Regions from separate parts of the Homo sapiens genome. Here regions 2 and 3 are each linked to region 1. Evidence: promoter capture Hi-C in 16 types of primary human blood cells and fetal thymus (Javierre and others, 2016). All regions are on one chromosome and are shown on one strand. Each heading gives the region's core, a stretch centred on a gene start or on the middle of the fragment in contact. The rest is flanking DNA. Distances are from core to core; before and after follow the strand shown.

Region 1 (4,095 bases), core at 428-2,927:
TGCAAGATAGGCACTCAATCGATACTCATTAAATTAACAATATACACATATATAAAACAGCACTTTCACATGGTTATGAGTGACCTAAGGAAAAACAGAACAGGATGACGTTGTAGTGGGGGCTGTTTTAAATTGACAGTTTGGAGCTGGGCGCAGTGGCTCACACCTGTGATCCCAGTATTTTGGGAAGCCGAGGCGAGTGGATCACCTGAGGTCAGGAGTTCGAGACCAGCCTGGCCAACATGGTGAAACCCTGTCTCTACTAAAAATACAAAAATTAGCCGGGCATGGTGGCAGGTGCCTGTAATCCCAGCTACTCAGGAGGCTGAGGCAGGAGAAATGTTTGAACCTAGGAGGCGGAGGTTGCATGAGCTGAGTTCGAGCCACTGCACTCCAGCCTGGGTGACAGAGCAAGACTCCGTCTCAATAAACAAACAAACAGACAGGTTTGGGAAAGCCTCTGAGAAAGGAATGGTTGGCCTGAGCTAAGCGCCATTACCCTGATCCACCTATTGTAACCACCTAATGGGTTCATTATTTTCCCTGCTCCCCAGATAGAGTCGACTTATCAAGACAGGATAATTGCAATAAAGGGTTTAATTCACATCAATCGAGCTAAATGAGAGACCAGAGTTTTATTACTCAAATAGGTCTCCCCAAATATTTTGAGACGAGCTTTTTTGTTTTTGGGTTTTTTTGTTTTTGTTTTTGTTTTTTTTGAGACAGAGTCTCGTTCTCCTTCTGTCGCCCAGGCTGGAGTGCAGTGGCATGATCTTGGCTCACTGCAACCTCCGCCTCCAGGGTTCAAGCGATTCTCTTGCCTCAGCCTTTTGAGTAGGTGGGATTACAGGCATGCGCCACCACACCCGGCTAATTTTTGTAGTAGAAACGGGGTTTCGCCCTGTTGGCCAGGCTGGTCTCGAACTGCCTACCTCAGGTGATCCGCCCGCCTCGGCCTCCCAAAGTGCTGGGATTACAGGCATGAGCCATCACGCCAGGCCTTCAATTATATTTCTGCAAGATATGTTCCCTGTCTAAAAGAATTCAATTTTTAATGTTTTTGAAACTTATGTGTTTGCTAAACAAATACGTGGGGGCTGATTTTACGATCTGAGGCCAAATCCACAAACTGATTACAGGGTCCAACAAATATTTGGCGAGTGGGAGGAGAGGGGTAAGTGAGCTGGACTGGTGGCGTCCTGGCTGTGAGCAGGCACAGCCGCAGGCTTCAGGGAGCCCCATCGCGGTGACCCTGGAGAGTGGCCTGAATCGGACGTGACCTTGAAGCAAGGTGGTTTTGGGGTCGCCGGCTGCACAAGGCGCGAAGTGGTTTAGGGTCACGGGCTGCACGAGGCTCCAGCACGTCAGGAGTGGGCGTCTGTTCATTCCCACGTGCATCGCGGCTCTCTCCTAGTTGACGCATGCACACCCCGTGGGTGTATGCGTTGTTCATTCCCACAACGGCCATCACCACCTCTCCGCACCCTCTGTCTCCTTCCTTCTCGGGCCTCACCCCTGGCCCTCGCTTTCAGTGCCCAGCCCGGACCGCAGCACTCCAGTTCCGCCCCAACCCGGGAACCCTGGACTGAGGCTCCCGTTTCTGTCCTTTCTATTGGGCGCACTTCCGATGGCGTCAGGAATTTCAGCCAATAGGAGCCAGCCAGGAAGTACCTCTCTGAGCGGTTGGTGCCGGGTATAAAAGAAGGCCGCGCAGCCACGGCTGCTCACGACGCCGCGGATCCCGAAGCCTGTGTAGCAGTGAGACATCAGTGAGGCTGCAGGACGAGCAGGATTGGAAGCGCCCCGGCCAGAAAGTGACCCCCCACCCCTTTCAGGACCCTGTGAACGGGAACAGCCATCCAGAGGGTTCAGGAAGGCGTCCGCGCCCTCACCTCTTCTCCCCATGAGCTCCCCCAGAGCTGTGGTGCAGCTGGGCAAAGCTCAACCTGCAGGCGAAGAGTGTGAGAGCCAGCGCCAGAGAAAGGACGCAGGGAAGGCTGGGGACTGGGCCAGGGGTCGGGTGCACAGAAGACACATGTGTTGACATCTCCCCTCCCTCTCCTCCTCCCCAACGCTCTTCTTTTCTCCCCACTCCCTCCCTTCCCTCCAATTCTTTCTTTCACCTCTCCCTCCCCTACTCTCTCCTCCCCTTCCTTTCTCTCTGCCTCTTCTTCACCTCCTCCTCCCCTCCCTACCTTACCTTACTCTTTCTTCTTCCCCTTACCTCTCCCTCCCCCTCTCCCTGCCTTCCCCTTCCCTCTCTTTCTCTCCTCCCCTTCTTCCCCTCACCTCTCGCTCCCTATTCCCTTCTCTACTGTTCTCCTCTCCTCTCTTTCTCTCCCCTTCTCCTTCCCTCCCCTCTCCCTTCCTATCTCCCTCCTCCTCCTCTCTTTCAGTGGCTACAGCAAACCAAACAGCCCAGCAGCCCAGCAGCCCAGCCATGTGAGTCCCTTGGGATTGGTATCTGGAAAAGGAAGGAAGGTGGGACGTGGGGATGAAGAACAGACTGGGTGTGTGGGGTGCTGGCTCCTGGGAACGAGAACTACTGATAGGGCTGGGTCTGTGTGAGAAGGGAAAGCGGCAGAGGAAGGATACAATGAAAGAGGAAGGGGAGCATTGGCATCCCTGACTTTCCCTCCGCCTACCCTACCTCCCAAGCTGAGGCTTTTTTCTTCCTCTCCTGTCAGGCGGCGCCTCACAGTCGATGACTTTGAAATCGGGCGTCCCCTGGGCAAGGGGAAATTTGGGAATGTGTACCTGGCTCGGCTCAAGGAAAGCCATTTCATTGTGGCCCTGAAGGTTCTCTTCAAGTCGCAGATAGAGAAGGAAGGACTGGAGCACCAGCTGCGCCGGGAAATTGAGATCCAGGCTCATCTACAGTAAGGACAGTCTCTGCTTCCTCTTTCATCTTTGACGTCTGAGCCCAGCATTTTCCCCAAATACTAACCCCAAGTAAACCCTGCACTTGTACCTTGAAGACTTCTCTGCAGTTCATTCCATTTACACTACCTCCTACCCTGGGTCAGACACTCGAATCCTGGTTCCTGTTCTCCGTTCTCCCCTCACTTGCTCCCAGATAGGGCTGTTGTTATTCTGGTCCCAGCATAATTTGCCACTTGTGTGACCAGGCAGTGACGGTGGCATCATATGATAGGCCTCAGGGAGAAATCTGACTCTTCCAACATTAATCCTTCAGACACCCCAATATCCTGCGCCTGTATAACTATTTCCATGATGCACGCCGGGTGTACCTGATTCTGGAATATGCTCCAAGGGGTGAGCTCTACAAGGAGCTGCAGAAAAGCGAGAAATTAGATGAACAGCGCACAGCCACGGTGAGGTGCGGGTCTGGAGGCTCTGGGGTCTCTGAGTTTACTGTGGGCTGGTGGGAGCTCTGTTTGTGGCTGTCAGGAGGGTCCGCATTGCCTTCTGAGAAGTTTACTTCTGAATGTTATTGTGTAAATTTAATATAATGGCACGTATGTTCTACAGCTTTATCCTTGGATACCCTAATTAACCTCATTGTATCTCCAGAATATTAATAAGTACTGCGTATAGGTTTGGATTCTTTGGTTATAAGCAACAGAATCTAACTCCACTGCCTTATGTAAAGAAACATATTGAAAGGCTCTGAAGGAGTTCACTGAATAAATAGCTAGAACTGGCTTAGAGATAGGTACAAAGAGATTTCTAGAGGGTTCCGGAAAGGGAACCATGGCAATGATTTTCCCAGGAGCAATGGTCCAATCAGCTTGCTGTGTCAGGATGAGTGGTCTTCCATCTTTCCTCCTGTTTCTGTTTCACTTCCTCGGGCCTCAAGTCCTGTGAGAGATCATCTGAGTGGCTCAATGTAGGTTCTATGTCTGGCTACTTGCTGTGCTAGGACAACAGGGAGGATCTGTGTCCATGTTACCATCCATCCTATAAGACCACATAAAAAGGAGAGGAAAACCACACCCCACACACCAGTAACTGGTGCAATTTAAAAGGAGGAAATGGAGTTACTGGACCAAAAAGATTCCACTGTAATCATACAATTCATGGTAAGTGTTCCACCTCAGACGGAAATTGTGGCAGGCTTCACTTCCAGGGTGA
Region 2 (4,095 bases), core at 654-3,153, 1.2 Mb after region 1:
CAAAGAAACTACCCCATTCTTCAGAGCTAGCTCTGGGCCCACAGGTGACCCTTGGTGTCCAGATCACAAGATTCAGTCCAAGCCTGTCAGTCTTTCATAGGAGGCCTTAGGGCAACAAGACAAATTCAACCAAAACTGGACTGAGCACTCTTCCTGCCCATGCGGCTGTTTGAGACACTCAGTGCCCCCTTACAAAAGCTGTTCTTTTTATATTAGGATGAATTGTTTCAAACCACCTCACCAACTCTGATGCAGGTGGCTAAACATTAAGGCCTTTGTTATCTCAGAGAGAGACAGGCAGATCCAGGAGTGAGTGATTGAGACTAAACAGATCATTCCTAAGTGTCACATGTAGATGCAAACAATGTCCATGAAGAGAAACCTTTTCTTCTATTTTAGATGGAGTCTCACACTGTCGCCCAGGCTGGAGTGCAGTGGCACGATCTCGGCTCACTGCACACCCTGCCTCCCAGGTTCACACCATTCTCCTGCCTCAGCCTCCTAAGTAGCTGGGACTACAGGCACCCGCCACCACACCTGGCTAATTTTTTGTATTTTTAGTAGAGGTGGGTTTTCACCATGTTAGCCAGGATGGTCTCGATCTCCTGACCTCATGATCTGCCTGCCTCAGCTTCCCAAAGTGCTGGGATTATAGGCATGAGCCACTGTGCCCGGCCAAGAAACCTTTTCTGGAAAGCTCCAGAAGACACCAGCTCAGATCTTAGCAAGAATTGTCATACCAAAATCTAAAGCCATCAGTGGGAAAGAAAATGAAGGTACTCAAAGCCTATGTAATTCTCTCTAGAGAATGGAAAAGGGAGTATAGTCTGCTTTCCCTTAGCACAGTGAGGGAGACTGATACATATCATGAGATCTTGCCAGGTGGCAGAGATGAGACAGTATGGCAGGCAGCTTTGGACATGGCTTCCAATGATCTCTGCCCTCTGGTATTCATGCTCTTGTGTAATGCTCTCCCCTTGACTGTGGGCTGGACCAAGTGACTTGCTTCTAACTAAATTTAGCAAAGATGATGGGATCTCACTTCTGTTATTAGGTTACAAATGACTGACTTGTTGGTATTCTCCACTGCATGATCAGCTTGCAAGCTTTGATTGACAAGCTGCCATTTTGGAGAGGCCCATGTGGCAGAGAACTGGAGGAGGTCTCAGACCAACAGACGGGTCCTCAGTCCAGCAGCCCACAAAAAACTGAATGCTGCCAATTACATGAGTTTGCTTGGAAGCAGAGCCTTCCCTAGTCAAGCCTTCAGATGATACACCCCCAGCTGACATCTTGATGTTAGCCTTGTGAGAAACCCTAAAGAGGAGTCAGCTAGCTGCACCAAAGTTCCTGACCTATAGAGACTGTGAAATAGTGACTATTGTTTTAAGCCACTAGGTTTTGAGTAATTTGTTACACAGCAATAGGTAACTAATACAGATGGCTTCTGCAATAGCAGTAATACAGTGCCGCCTAAGATTCTGGGAGCTGTGGCTTTCCCACATTTGTTGCCCATAACTCTCTTGTGAATTCTCTGGTGATTTTTCTTAAAAGGGGGTGTCTATAGCTGAAGGCTTTCCCATTTTCACTGCATTTGTAATGCCTTTTTCCCATAGGTACTTTATATAGCTTTCTCACATAGGAGAGGTGACTGAAGACCATCCCACATTCCTTAGATGCAGGGGTTTTCTCTACTGTGAATTTTTTGGTTATAGATAAGAATCGATTTCTTCTTGAGGGTCTTTCTTCATACCAAGTATTTAAAGATCTCTCTTCAGTGTGGGTTCTTAGGTGGTTGAAGAGGGCAAAAGTCTTCATGTCTTCCCATAGCCACTGCTCTTGAAGGGCTTCTCCCTATCATGGCCTGCCCGGTGTTATCTGATGTTAGAGCTGTGTGGCAGCATCTTCTCACTCAGCTCTTCTTCATGGCTTCCCTGTGCCATGAGTACTCTGGTGATGGAGAAAGGAAGGCCTTTCCACATTCTCTTTTGAGCTTCTCATTATTCTGGTACTCCAGTGCTGGAAGGGGGTAGTTACCCTGGAAAGCCTTCACAAATGCCTGGCCCTTGAGTCCTCTCACTTATGAATTTTGCTGTGCATGAACTGAAAAGTGCTCTTACTGTGAGCCATGTCACATCTGAAAAGGTGGTCTTCACCATAAATGGTCTACTGTTGGTGAAGGTTTGATCCACTCCCTTGTGTGGGGTTTCTACCTGGAGTACACTGCCTAACGTTCAGCCAGGAGTACAATCTTTGGCAGGGCAAGGGTGCCATGGTCAGGGTGAGGAACGACCAGTCATGGAGTACTGGTCCTGTCACATATCCCACTACTGAGCCTGTTAGGTGACATTCACATAGGCAGGGAGAACAGAGAGGGATCTAGGACAGATGTGGAAGCAGCAGTGGCTACTGAAACTGCTGTTCAGTGATGTGAGCCCAGGCCACCCTTCTTTTCTAGAGATGGGGCCTTGCTATGTTGCCCTGGATGGACTCAACCTCCTGGGCTCAAGAGATCCTCCTGCCTCAGCCTCTCAAGCAGCTAGGACTATAGGTGTGCACCACTGCACCTGGCCAGGCCTCTCCTTTATGGGGACTCCTGTTCACATCCCAGCCAATGCTCTCATGAGTACTTCCTTGTATGGGGGAGGTCAAAGAAACAGCAGCAGCTCACATGTGATGATGCTGAAATTACATGGTAAATAAGCTTTTTAAAATAGGTGCCGGCCAGGTGCGGTGGCTCATGCATGTAATCCCAGCACTTTGGGAGTCCAAGGCAGGCAGATCAGGAGGTCAGGAGATCGAGACCATCCTGGCTAACATGGTGAAAACCCGTCTCTACTAAAAATACAAAAAAATTAGCTGGGTGTGGTGGCGGGCAACTGTAGTTCCAGCTACTCGGGAGGCTGAGGCAGGAGAATGGCGTGAGCCATTTAGGAGGTGGAGCTTGCCGTGAGCCAAAATCGCGCCACTGCACTCCAGCTTGGGCGACAGAGCAAGACTCCATATCAAAAAAAAAAGGTGCCAAACACCATATTCTACAAGGTTCTGGATCTCTAGCTCCTTCTAAAATACCAGCTCTGTCAACTGTGTTAAATGCCCCCATCTGCCTGTGCCCACTCTGTTGGCCAGCAAGACTGTGAAGGCATGAAGTGTGTGTTAGTGACCAGAAACCCTGGCCAGACTGCAAAAACCACTTTCCTGGACGTCAGGCTATCACTTCTCTCAGCTCCCAGTTCCTACCTGGGGAGTGATGGGTGCCAAGATACAGTTTGAGAGAGGTGAAGTGAATGTACATGACATTGCATTTATCTGCTTTAACTGTGGCAAAAACTTTAACATGGCAAATACAAAGGTCTGTAGCTCTGGAGTTGTTCTGCACACCCTCACCCTGCACAGTCCCAGTTGATGGGGAACTATGGCTATTCCTTTGTCCATGATGGCATGTGCCCTAGTTCACCAGTCTACCCAAATCCCTGGTTATTACCTCACATCCAGTGTTTCTCTATGCACATAGAGTCCTCCATGGACCCCTCTAGGTCTTTGCCTTGGTGACCCTGTGACTATTTTAGTGTTGTAGATGAGTTTATTTTTCCTCTGGGTAAGCTCTGGGCCCTACGGTAACTGAAACAGGCCACTATGTTCAATCCAGAGCCTTTCAGTCTTTCCCAGTCTTTCACACAGCAATGCAAAGTAGGCTACAACAGGACAGAGCAACTACCCGCTCTTCTACTGTGCCCTTAGGCAGATTTTGTGCCCCCAAAAGGCACTCCCCAATCTATCCATTCATTTTCTCAACCTACCCCAACAGAACCCCTAAGATTAAAGGTGACCTGATCAATAAGGTCTTTATTATCACCAGTTAGTGCAGGCAAGGTAGGTGATTCCAGTGGAGGGTGATTTGTGGCCTCAATGGACACATCTTAGGGGTTAAACACAGACTTGACCACATCCACAAGGAATGTGCATCTTCCTGAGCTCAAATTAGATTTCCCTCAAGGCCCCTCAACCAGCATCGGTTCAGCTGAGCACAGTCCTGAATCCCTAGAGAACACAGGAAGGAAGGCTCAGGGTACTGTTTTCCCCATGCATGAGGAC
Region 3 (4,095 bases), core at 439-2,938, 1.1 Mb before region 1:
CTCCCCTGCCCACTCCTCCTCCTCCTCCTCCTCCTCCTCCTCGTTGTTGTCATCCTCTGGATGAGAAGTGAGGGACTTGGAGAAACAGCGGAGGGGGCTCAGGAGCCCACCAGGGTGTCTGTAATCCCCCACGTCGTCTTCTCACTCCATCCCTCTCCTGGGGTCTCCCTTTCCCCTTGGGATGAGAAAGGATGGGGTAAGGGCTGATGGGGATGTGTAAAGACAGGACAGAGATACAAGTGCCAGCCACAAACCGACAGAATGCTGGAAGGACCTTGGAGGCAATGTGTCCTCCACGGTGGAGAGGAGGAGACAGAACCCAGCCAGGACCAGGGCGTCCCCTCTGTCCCTTAGACAGCAAAGGGCAACAGCAAGAGTAAAACCTCTTCCAAGGTTCTTTCCTCTGGAAAGCAGGTGACGTCAGGGCAAAGAGAGAGCGTGCTGCAGAGACAGATAGATCAACACACATGACAGGAGAGAGACGCAGCAACGACACACTCCTTATTCGTTCACCCAACAAGTATTGAGTGAGCTCCGGGCACTGTTTTAGGGGCTGCTGTGAGGTTTCTCATCTTTGGAGCTATTGACTTTCGGGGCTGGGTCCTTCCCATCGGGGAGGCCTTTCCTGAGCACTGTGGGAGGCTGAGCCGCGTCCCTGGCTTCCACCCACGAGATGCCGGGAGTCCCTCCCAAGTCCCAAGTAAAGATGTCTCCAGCCGGGCGCGGTGGCTCACGCCTGTAATCCCAGCACTTTGAGAGGCTGAGGCGGGAAGATCACGAGGTCAGGAGTTCAAGACTAGCCTGGCCAACATAGTAAAACTCCGTCTGTCTCTACTAAAAATACAAAAAATTAGCCGGGCGTGGTGGCGGGCGCCTGTCGTCCCAGCTACTCGGGAGGCTGAGGCAGGAGAATGGCGTGAACCCGGGAGGCACAGCTTGTAGTGAGCCGAGATCACAGCACTGCACTCCAGCCTGGGCGACAGTGCGAGACTCCGTCTCAAAACAAAAACAAAAAAAACGAACAAACAAAACTGTCTCCAGACTTGGTCACATGTCCTGGGGTGAGGCTGGGGCAGCATCGGGGCAGAGTCACTCCTGGTTGAGAGCTTCCGGCCTAGGGACGCAGCCATGAACAAGACACAGTTGACACCCCTCATGGGGTCTCCTTTAGCCAGGGTGGTAGGTGGGGGGCGGGGAGATAGACAGCTCACAAGTAAACAAATAAACAGGGTCTACCGTGCAAGACAGAAGAAATGCAACTCAGTGAGGGAGCTGCGGAGGCTTGGAGGGATTGATGGGGGCAGAGGGGACAGGGCTACGGAGACACCAGTGGCAGGTGGAGACAACCAAGGAAGACACAGGTCAAGGCCCAGACGCAGATAAGAGGGAGGGAGGGAGCCCTCGAATAGCTGCAAAGTCTGGAACAGGACAGCTGGAAGATAAAGGGGCACAGAAGGAGGGGGAAGGGCAGGGTCTACCAGGGGAAACCAAGGCACAGCAGCATTTCCCGCGATGAAGTGTGTGTTTTGACCTCACAGACCAGCGTTTGAAAGCCCCTGGAGTGGATGACTGTTCCCCCACCTCCATCCTCTTCACTCCCTCTCCCTTCTTCTAATCCCCTCCCTTTCCCCCCTCCCTTCTATTGTCTCCTCAGAAGGCATAAAAGCTCAGGGGGCGTGAAAGAGTCCAGGCGCTGGAGCGAGGAGCCAGAGAGAGCTGCGGAGAGCTGCCAGCTGCAGCGGGGTGAGAGCCTAGGCCAGGAGGGCAGAGGGGCGGATCCCAGCTGCACCGGGGTGAGAGCCTAGGCCAGGAGGGCACAGGGTCGGCTGCCAGCTGCAGCGGGGTGAGAGCCTAGGCCAGGAGGGCAGAGGGGCGGATGCCAGCTGCAGCGGGGTGAGAGCCTAGGCCAGGAGGGCACAGGGGCGGATGCCAGCTGCAGCGGGGTGAGAGCCTAGGCCAGGAGGGCAGAGGGGCGGATCCCAGCTGCACCGGGGTGAGAGCCTAGGCCAGGAGGGCAGAGGGGCGGATCCCAGCTGCACCGGGGTGAGAGCCTAGGCCAGGAGGGCAGAGGGGCGGATCCCAGCTGCACCGGGGTGAGAGCCTAGGCCAGGAGGGCAGAGGGGCGGATGCCAGCTGCAGCGGGGTGAGAGCCTAGGCCAGGAGGGCAGAGGGGCGGATCCCAGCTGCACGGGGGTGAGAGCCTAGGCCAGGAGGGCAGAGGGGCGGATGCCAGCTGCAGCGGGGTGAGAGCCTAGGCCAGGAGGGCAGAGGGGTGGATGCCAGCTGCACCGGGGTGAGAGCCTAGGCCAGGAGGGCAGAGGGGTGGATCCAAGCTGCACTGGGGTGAGAGCCTAGGCCAGGAGGGCAGAGGGGTGGAGGGAGTGAGGGGCTCCTGGGAGAGTGATGGGGGGCTTGAAGGGATGGGGATAACAGGAGAAACCCCAGCATTGGTGGCAGGGAAAAGGTGAGGGGCAGGTAAGGGGACGGAAAGGTTTGAAGATGGAGTGGTGGAGGCAGTGGGGCAGAAGGCATGGGCGCTGGGGGACCAGGTCGGCCTGATCCGATGATGGGGGAAGGAGAGGCTTAATTGCTTGCACACGTCCAAACTCCTCAAGATGTGTACATTAAATGTGCGCCATTTTTGTATCTCGATGATGCCTCCATAAAGCTAAAAAATAAATTCCTCTGTCCTTATCGGAAATGCACCTGGCCCCCGCTTCGGAAAATGACTGGCCGCTCTCTCCTTGCAGCGTGTTCCGCAGCTGTAGGCACCTGTCGTCCTGCCTTCGATGGCTCCTCCCTCCGTCCCCCTGGTCCTCCTCCTCGTCCTCTTGCTGAGCCTGGCAGAGACTCCAGCATCCGCACCTGCCCACCGGGTAACGCCTCCCTAAGTTCCTCGGAAACAACAGTGTCCCCAAATCCCTGCCCTCTGGGAAGAGTTTTTAAAAATGCTTCTGGCTTGTGTCAAGGGTCCTGGGGAAGAAGCTCAAATCCTGAAAATATGAGAAGAAATATTGCGTGTCTCTACTAAAAACACAAAAATTAGCCGGGCATGGTGGCACGTGCCTGTAGTCCCAGCTACTCAGGAGGCTGAGGCAGGAGAATCGCTTGAACCTGGCAGGCGGAGGTTGCAGCGAGCCGAGATTGTGCCACTGCACTCCAGCCTGGGTGACAGAGCGAGACTCCATCTCAAAAAAAAAAAAAAAAAAGAAGAAATGGGGTTTCACCATGTTGGCTAGGCTGGTCTTGAACTCCTGACCTCCTGGCTTCAAGTGATCCACCCGCCTTGGCCTCCCAAAGTACTGGGATCACAGGTGTCAGCCACGGCACCCAGTCTGGGACGACACTTTGAAAACCTTTGATCACACACCTCCACAGCATGGGCTGTAGAGGCTGGGTTGAGTTTGAAATCCGGGATCTGCGACTTTCTAGCTGTGTGACTTCAGTCACATTGCCTAACCTCTCTGGTCTCTGAGTGGATCTTCTTTGTCCAATTCCAGCACTGTGAGAGTTAACAGTTAACTCGGATGGCAGGCAGCTCTCATTATTTAGCCAAGAGGATTAAATAATTAAGAGATGTTGGTCCAGGGATACACAGTTTCAGTTAGACAGGGGAAATAAACTAGATCTCTGGTACAGCATGGTGGCTGTTGTTCATAACAATGTGTTGTATACTTGAAAATTGCTAAGAGAGTAGATGGATGTTAGGTGTTCTCACCACAAAAAAGCTAAGCACATGACGTAATGTAGAGGGTAATTACCTTGATGGAGTCACTCCGCAGTGTAGCCGTATTTCCACACGTGTTGTGCACCACGCCTGCATTTAAAATGCAGTTTTTTTCTAACAAAAAAAAAAAAAAGAGGCCAGTCCCAGTGGCTCACTCCTGTAATCCCAGTACTTTGAGAGGCCAAGATTAGAGAATTGCTTGAGCTCAGGAGTTCGAGACCAGCCTGGGCAACATAGTGAGAACCTCCATCTCTTAAAAAAAAAAAATTAACTAGGTATGGTCTTGCGTGACTGTAGTCCGAGCTACTTGGGAGGCTGAGGCATGAGAATTGCTTGAACCCAGGAGGCTGAGTTTGCAATGAGCTGAG

What was found. The method cuts DNA at HindIII sites, captures the fragments that hold promoters and counts their contacts. A CHiCAGO score of 5 or more calls a contact.
Region 2: a contact is called between a fragment that was not itself captured here and the fragment with the promoter of AURKC in region 1, in 1 of 17 cell types (neutrophils). The highest score is 5.0, in neutrophils.
Region 3: the fragment with the promoter of GALP here is called in contact with the fragment with the promoter of AURKC in region 1 in 1 of 17 cell types (neutrophils); the score reaches 5.4 in neutrophils.

The regions. Positions count from the first base shown.
Region 1 is chr19:57,229,346-57,233,440 of GRCh38, forward strand. It overlaps AURKC (aurora kinase C), which reads left to right and starts at 1,678. Exons shown (of 7, transcript NM_001015878.2): 1 at 1,678-1,961; 2 at 2,397-2,442; 3 at 2,688-2,879; 4 at 3,197-3,335. The coding sequence starts at 1,904. The HindIII fragment of the contact is 17,293 bases long and covers 1-4,095 here.
Region 2 is chr19:58,428,988-58,433,082 of GRCh38, forward strand. It overlaps ZNF132 (zinc finger protein 132), which reads right to left. Exons shown (of 3, transcript NM_003433.4): 3 at 3,827-4,095. It also overlaps a transcript of ZNF324B not described here. Among named protein-coding and RNA genes, the nearest start is that of ZNF132, 9.1 kb to the right of the region's middle. The HindIII fragment of the contact is 1,598 bases long and covers 1,105-2,702 here.
Region 3 is chr19:56,174,320-56,178,414 of GRCh38, forward strand. GALP (galanin like peptide) reads left to right here and starts at 1,689. Exons shown (of 6, transcript NM_033106.4): 1 at 1,689-1,743; 2 at 2,751-2,876. The coding sequence starts at 2,790. RefSeq lists enhancers at 824-1,374, 1,375-1,925. The HindIII fragment of the contact is 6,092 bases long and covers 1-4,095 here.